Linked DNA regions of Homo sapiens: region 2 is linked to region 1. Evidence: promoter capture Hi-C in 16 types of primary human blood cells and fetal thymus (Javierre and others, 2016). All regions are on one chromosome and are shown on one strand. Each heading gives the region's core, a stretch centred on a gene start or on the middle of the fragment in contact. The rest is flanking DNA. Distances are from core to core; before and after follow the strand shown. Region 1 holds the start of GXYLT1 (glucoside xylosyltransferase 1). Region 2 overlaps PRICKLE1 (prickle planar cell polarity protein 1).

The links. The method cuts DNA at HindIII sites, captures the fragments that hold promoters and counts their contacts. A CHiCAGO score of 5 or more calls a contact.
Region 2: a fragment that was not itself captured here is called in contact with the fragment with the promoter of GXYLT1 in region 1 in 2 of 17 cell types (naive B cells and total B cells); the score reaches 6.6 in naive B cells.

The regions. Positions count from the first base shown.
Region 1 is chr12:42,143,402-42,146,440 of GRCh38, forward strand. It overlaps GXYLT1 (glucoside xylosyltransferase 1), which reads right to left and starts at 1,473. Exons shown (of 8, transcript NM_173601.2): 1 at 1,025-1,473. The coding sequence starts at 1,245. RefSeq lists silencers at 861-1,090, 1,171-1,670 and an enhancer at 1,831-1,900. The HindIII fragment of the contact is 13,899 bases long and covers 1-3,039 here.
Region 2 is chr12:42,467,300-42,470,557 of GRCh38, forward strand. It overlaps PRICKLE1 (prickle planar cell polarity protein 1), which reads right to left. Exons shown (of 8, transcript NM_153026.3): 3 at 2,947-3,060; 4 at 2,151-2,288; 5 at 1,327-1,530. Among named protein-coding and RNA genes, the nearest start is that of PRICKLE1, 120 kb to the right of the region's middle. RefSeq lists enhancers at 2,205-2,304, 2,315-2,364. The HindIII fragment of the contact is 902 bases long and covers 1,286-2,187 here.

The DNA.
Region 1 (3,039 bases), core at 223-2,722:
GTCCGCTTTCCACGCTGCTCCTCTGCCCAAACTTTCCCCTTTCATTCTGGGAATGACCATCGACTCTCAAAATGATGTTAAACAACAGCCCACAACTGATCTATACTCCCTCTTCCGACAAACCCTATACTTCTCTATATCAAAGCAGCATTTGCCAAGTCTTGGTAGGGAGCACTTCAGGTCATTCCCAGAGAGATGCCCATACATAAGGTGGAAGTGTCCATGTTGCAAGGCAGTGCAAACGCTCAGATTTCAAGCATTCATAATGCGTTGACAGAAACATTTTTTTTCTATTTAAATCTCATGTTGATTCCCACTCTGGCAGTGATTACGTCCTAAGTCATTACGTCGCTTTTTAAATACCAATTTGTCAAGAAAGGTAACTCCATCCCATCCAACAACAGACTTGAGCACGCCAAGTATCGCTCATTTTTCTTAATTTGCTCTAAGTTTCTTAATAAACTGAGTGTTTCCAAAAGAAAATTTCACAACCCGCACAAATGCCATTTCCAAATTTAACTAACCATGGCTAATACTTAGAAGTGTAAGCGTTAACACAGGAAAATCAGCATGAGGGACAAAATACACACACATATACACTCACACACACACACACAATCCTTAAACACTGAACTAGGGCGCCAGCCTCATGTTTAAATATCTCAACTTGAACTCCACTGAAACAAGAGGAAATTCTCACTAGCCAGGCAGCAGTAAGGCTTTTGTGGACACCTCTTATTTTCAAAGAACCCTCTTTTTAAAAAGTTGAAAATTAATTTCTAACTGCTTTAAAGGGCGCATGACTGGGTCAAAAGATAAACACAGAAAGTGTAGGACACTCTCAGGCGGGAGCAGCGCAGGTTTAGCCCCGGCCGGAGGGGAAGGAGGGAAATGAGTGAGGGGTCAGAGACAGGAGGAAAGACGCGGGAGACGCGGCACCCACCGGCGAGCAGCCCGGGCTAGGCCGAGCCCGCGCCCAGCGCCCCGCGCCCGCCGCGTCCCCCACACCGGGAACTGCCCGTACCTGTCCGACACGCCGGGATGCGCTGCGGGGCCCGCGACGCCGGCGCCTCTCACGGCGCCGCGTCCGCCGCCCGCGAGCCAGGAAGCCACCGCGGCCTGCGGCTTCCCGCCACCGCCGCCCGTTCCTTCTTCCAGGGACACGGCGAGCTGGCTGAAAGCGTAAAGGAGCGAGCAGAAGCCGCAGGCCACACACAGCACCACGACGCGCAGGTAGCGCCGCATCGCCCCGGCCGCGCTCCTCCTTCGCCGCCGCCGCCGCGCCCGCCCCGACGAACTGGAGCGGAGGGAGGGGCACCGCGCAGCCGCGGGCGCAACAAGTTCCTCACCCGCAGCCGCCGCCGCCGCCTTGCGCCCGCTCCCTTCCTTCCCTCCCCGCCCACCACCTAGGCGAGCGCAGTCGCGGCTCCGGAGCCGAAGGACTACCCGCCCGGAAGCCTGGACACCGCCTCTGCCGCCGCGCGCTCAAGGGTCAGCGGCAGCGACGCAACCCCGCCCCTCCCCCGGGCGGGAGGGCTGGACGCGCCGGCGCAGTTCGCGTGGGAGGGACGCAGGGCTGGCGCGCAGAGGGTGGTGTGAGTGCGCGGAACGCGGCGCGCCTGAGGGCTATAGCTAGCGCAGGCCGACGCGCAGGTGAATGGGAGCCCTGTGGGTCTCGACCGCCGAGAGAGGGGGAGCGAAAGCCTCAGGGCTCTGGAGGCAGTTGACCTAAATTCTAATTATGGTCCTTCCACATGGTAGTTTGTGACATTGGGCAACCTAAATTCTCTGAGCATGTTTCTTCGTCCCTAAAATGGAGCTACTATCCTCATCATGGGGTGGTTGTAAAGATTAAACTGTTTAACGCTCGAAAACCGCCTAACACTTAGAAGACACTTGACTAGGCCAGTTTCCTCTCCATCCTCCCCCAGCCTCTAAGTTTCTGTGATACTATAATGTGCACGAGCCATTTTCACCCCGATAAGCTCATTGCTTCGTGTGTTTGGTATGCGGACCTTACCTCTTGCCTCCCAGCAGACAGTGAGTTCCTGTAAGGCAGGGCTCTTCCCTTTGACCTTTTTGACCTCCCTCACAACTCATTATTTTCATGTGCAAAACAATTAGTATTCTCTCCACAGAGCTTCTTTCTTCCCCAGTTCTTCTCCCTCTTCTTCTGTGTTTCCACTACGTTCATTCATTGACCATTTATAAAGCATCACTTGTGCCAAGCTCTGTGTGAGTACCTAGGGGTATAAAGAGGCCTAAGTGGAGCGTGGGTGGGACAGCGGATACTTGTAAATAAGCGCAACGCAGTGATAACAGACTTAAGATCCAGGCCTGTAAGGGTGTGGGCATACACACAAAGGAACAATCAGTTCTATCTGTGAGTATGGTCAAGAGAGACTTCATAGCAAAGGTGGCGCTAGAGTCTTGAGTCGGGTAAGGGAAGTAATTCCAGGCTGAAGGATCAATAAACAGGCTCTTGTGTAGGGAACTGTTGAGAAGTTTGATACCACCAGCTAAGTGAATGCAAGAGAGGGTATGATGAGCGATAAGCGCGTAGAAGGGGCCAGATATTTGAGTGCTTTGTTTAGCACACCAAGGAGTTTGAATTTAATCTGCAAGACATTAGTGAACCATTGAAGGGTTTTTAAATAGGGAAGTAACATGATCACAATTGCATTTTAGAGAGCAGATTCTGGCTGTAGTGTGGAGGCTGAAACAGAGAGAGGAGAGATTGGAGGCAGAAAGCAGCACCAGTGCCAAAAAGTGAGGGAAGGGATACTTAAAAATACACACACACACGAACACACATTCATGGGGAAAAATCATGCGTTTAACTGCTGAAATTGCATCTGGGGCGTTGAAAAGTTTGGCCATGAGATACAAGGTGGGGAAATGCTGCGCAAAATAGTAGCAGTCTCCATTTGGATCCTTGGCTCCCTATACCAAAAAAGTAGTGGTTCTGTGACCATGATAAAGTCACTAAACAAATTTAAGGTTCAACTTCCTCCCCTTCTTGCTTTACCTGATAAAAAA
Region 2 (3,258 bases), core at 487-2,986, 320 kb after region 1:
AGAGACGGGGTTTCACCATGTTTGCCAGGATGGTCTCTGTCTCTTGACCTCGTGATCTGCCCATCTCGGCCTCCCAAAGTGCTGGGATTACAGGCGTGAGCCACCGAGCCCGGCAGGTTCTTTCATTTTTTTTATATTTTTGGTTTCCAAAATATGTTCAGCGGAGCATGGTGGCTCACCCTGGTATTCCCAGCATTTTGGGAGGCTGAGGGAGGTGAATCTCTTGGGGTCAGGAATTCGAGACCAGCCTGGCCAACATGGTGAAGCCCGCCTCTACTAAAAATACAAAAAAAAAAATTAGCTGGGCGTGGTGGTGGGCACCTGCAATCCCAGCTACTCGGGGGGCTGAGGTGCAAGAATCACTTGAACACGCGGGGCGGAGGTTGCAGTGAGCCAAGATTGCACCACGGCACTCCAGCCTGGGCAACAGAGAGCAACTCCATCCCAAAAAAATAAATCAAAACAAAACAAAAACAAAAATATGTTCAAATAGAACATTGTTGAAAAAAATGTATAAAGTAAATGAATGTATAAAAATAAAAACAAAGTTTATTGTCATAGATTGAAGGAGACTAAGAAGATACAACGAGTAAATGCAATGAAGCACCCTGGATTGATCTTGGATAAGAAAAGGAGCATCTGTTAAAACACTGGGAAAATCTAAACAAAGACTATGGTTTAGTTAATGGTATTACACTGCTGATAATTTCTTAGTTTTGATACATATATTATGGTTATGTAAGACGTTAGTGTCAGGGGAAGCTGGGAGAAGGGCATGCAGGATCTCTCTGTAATAGCTTTGCAACTCTTCTGTAAATCTAAAATTATTTTAAAATAAAAAGCTAAAGGGAAAAAATTTTTCCTTTCAAGCCATCATCCATTCCCACCTTCCCCGAGGGTAACTACTATTAATTTGGTATTTGTCTTTCCATACCTTTTCTGAGCATAAACAAATACATATATCATATTGTTTTTTAAATTCTTAACAAAAATGAGACCATCTACTACATGCTCTTCTGCAGCTTGTATTTTCTCACAACCCACTGAAGACATAATACTTATCAAAGTACAAAGACATCTGCTTCCCTTTCTATCAGGAAGGTGAAAAATTAATTGCGGTTTTGACCATTATGGCAAAAAACCGCAATTACTTTTGCAGCAACCAAATATAGATCATTTCATTGTATGAATGTACAGGATTATGTTTAAAACATGCACACAGAACAAAATCCAGGAAATTTTAGTATTTTGCTTGATGTAAACAGTGGAATATTGGCTTAATCTAAGCTTATTTTTCCCAGTGTGAAAGGATGAACTTTTTTTTACCTCGTCACATGCTGAGCACCGTGGTTTGAGCAGTTCTGCATGGTGCCTGCCACAGTGAATTTTTCCATCCTGATAAAAATAGATGAGGTCGACCAGCAGCTCATTACACGTGAAACAGACAAAACAGGATGGGTGCCAGCACACACCAGGGCCCGCACGGGAGGCGAACACTGCAACTTCACCTCCATTTATCTTCAAACCACACTACAAACAAATGGGTTTGAATGTAAAAGGATCATTTTTTAAAGACAGGATTCTCAGGCTTTCCTACTTTAGGATAAATCTCGAATTTGTCAGGAATGTATTTATTTTTGCTACCTCTTTTAGTGATTAAATAGCTCTTTAATGCTGGATTACTGGTGATTCTCCACTGTAAGGCACGTGTCTCAGACATACTACAACTATTTCTAAGGACGGTGTAATCTGATTCACACAAATAGTGGTTTTCCTGTGCCAGCCTCCTGCTGGATACATTTCCTACTCTGAGAACTGCCAGCAAAGATCTGAATGTCTTCATTATGTTTCTGCATCTTTTGAATACGAGATGTATCCTAGCACCTACCTCCATGCCAGGATCCTACCAAAGGCAGGATTTCACCCAATGTTTGCATAAGGGTGACTGACTCCTGCTGTCATACACAGCAGTGTAGCTAGTTACAAATATGAAACATGATTTGCTATTTAATAAAAAGCTAGGCTGTCTTTCTCTCATTTTCTGGAGGCTTTCAGGACCCACACCTCTGCTAGTCCAGTCACCTACCCCCGACTGTCCACCCCATCCACATCACTGCCACAAGCTACGCATCAGAGAAGGGGCTGCTCACCTGCTCACACACAGCATGCATGACTGCTCTGGACAGAAGCTTAATTGTTCCTCTTCCCAGTGCTTCTTTCTTCCGCTGAGCACTGAACACCTGCAACTCTTTTTTCTCCTCTTCACTCAAAGACTGGCAATACCGTACCTTCACAGAAAGCAAAACAGAAACACCACACTGAGTGCACAGTCTTTCTCACCAGTTCTCTACTTCCAGAGTTAGGGTTTCAGGAAGTGAAACAGTAAGTTTAGCTCGCCTGTGTCACACCCCCACGATTTTAAAATGACACCATATCTGAATTTTACAGCCTCTCTAGAAAAAGGGAAATGCAATGTGAAGGAATACTTTTTTTTTAAATAAGAAATGTTTAATTGAAAACCCTTATCAACACAGAATTAAAAAATATATATAGGACATTAACCTTTCCACAAAAGGTTTAAACTTGTTAATTGCCACTTTTACTCTCCATTCTACATGCACTCAACTCAACTGCAGGCCTGAATGACCATAAAGCATTCACTCTGGATGCAGGGGCTGGGAAATCTCAGGAATTTGTAGGTTCCTGATCATTGGTGGGTGGCTGCAAACACTATAAAAACCAACTTGTGTTAAGTTTATTACACTGATACTCTTTTCTCTCTTTCTCTCAAAGAATGGAAAGCTGTATTCTCTGGCCAAATTTTAACTAAAGAAAGGCAAAAGGGAGCCCTCGCCAGTGAGGAGTTGGGGTTTATGAGCAGCATCTCAATGCTTCTCATGCATTTTTTCTTCTTTTTTCTAATTAGCCTTCTTCCTGCTATTTTACCTCATTATCATGTGGTGGTAACTGGTACAAAAGCTGTTTAATCCGATGCTTCTCTCCGGGGCTGTTAACGTAAGGAACTTTTTCCTCTGGTAAGCAAGCAAAATAGAGCTGGATCTGCAAAAGAGACAGTGAGAATGGCATCAACATACAGAACTGAGCATCTCAGCTCACTTAATCTTTAAAAGTTACCTTTCCCTAGGTACAGGGTTTGGCCTCTTGTAGCTAATGAGAAGACCAGCTGAGCCAACTCAGCAGAACTGCAAACCTTCAGATAACTAGCACCCAGCTGCTAAATTGCTCTTCAGGAATGTA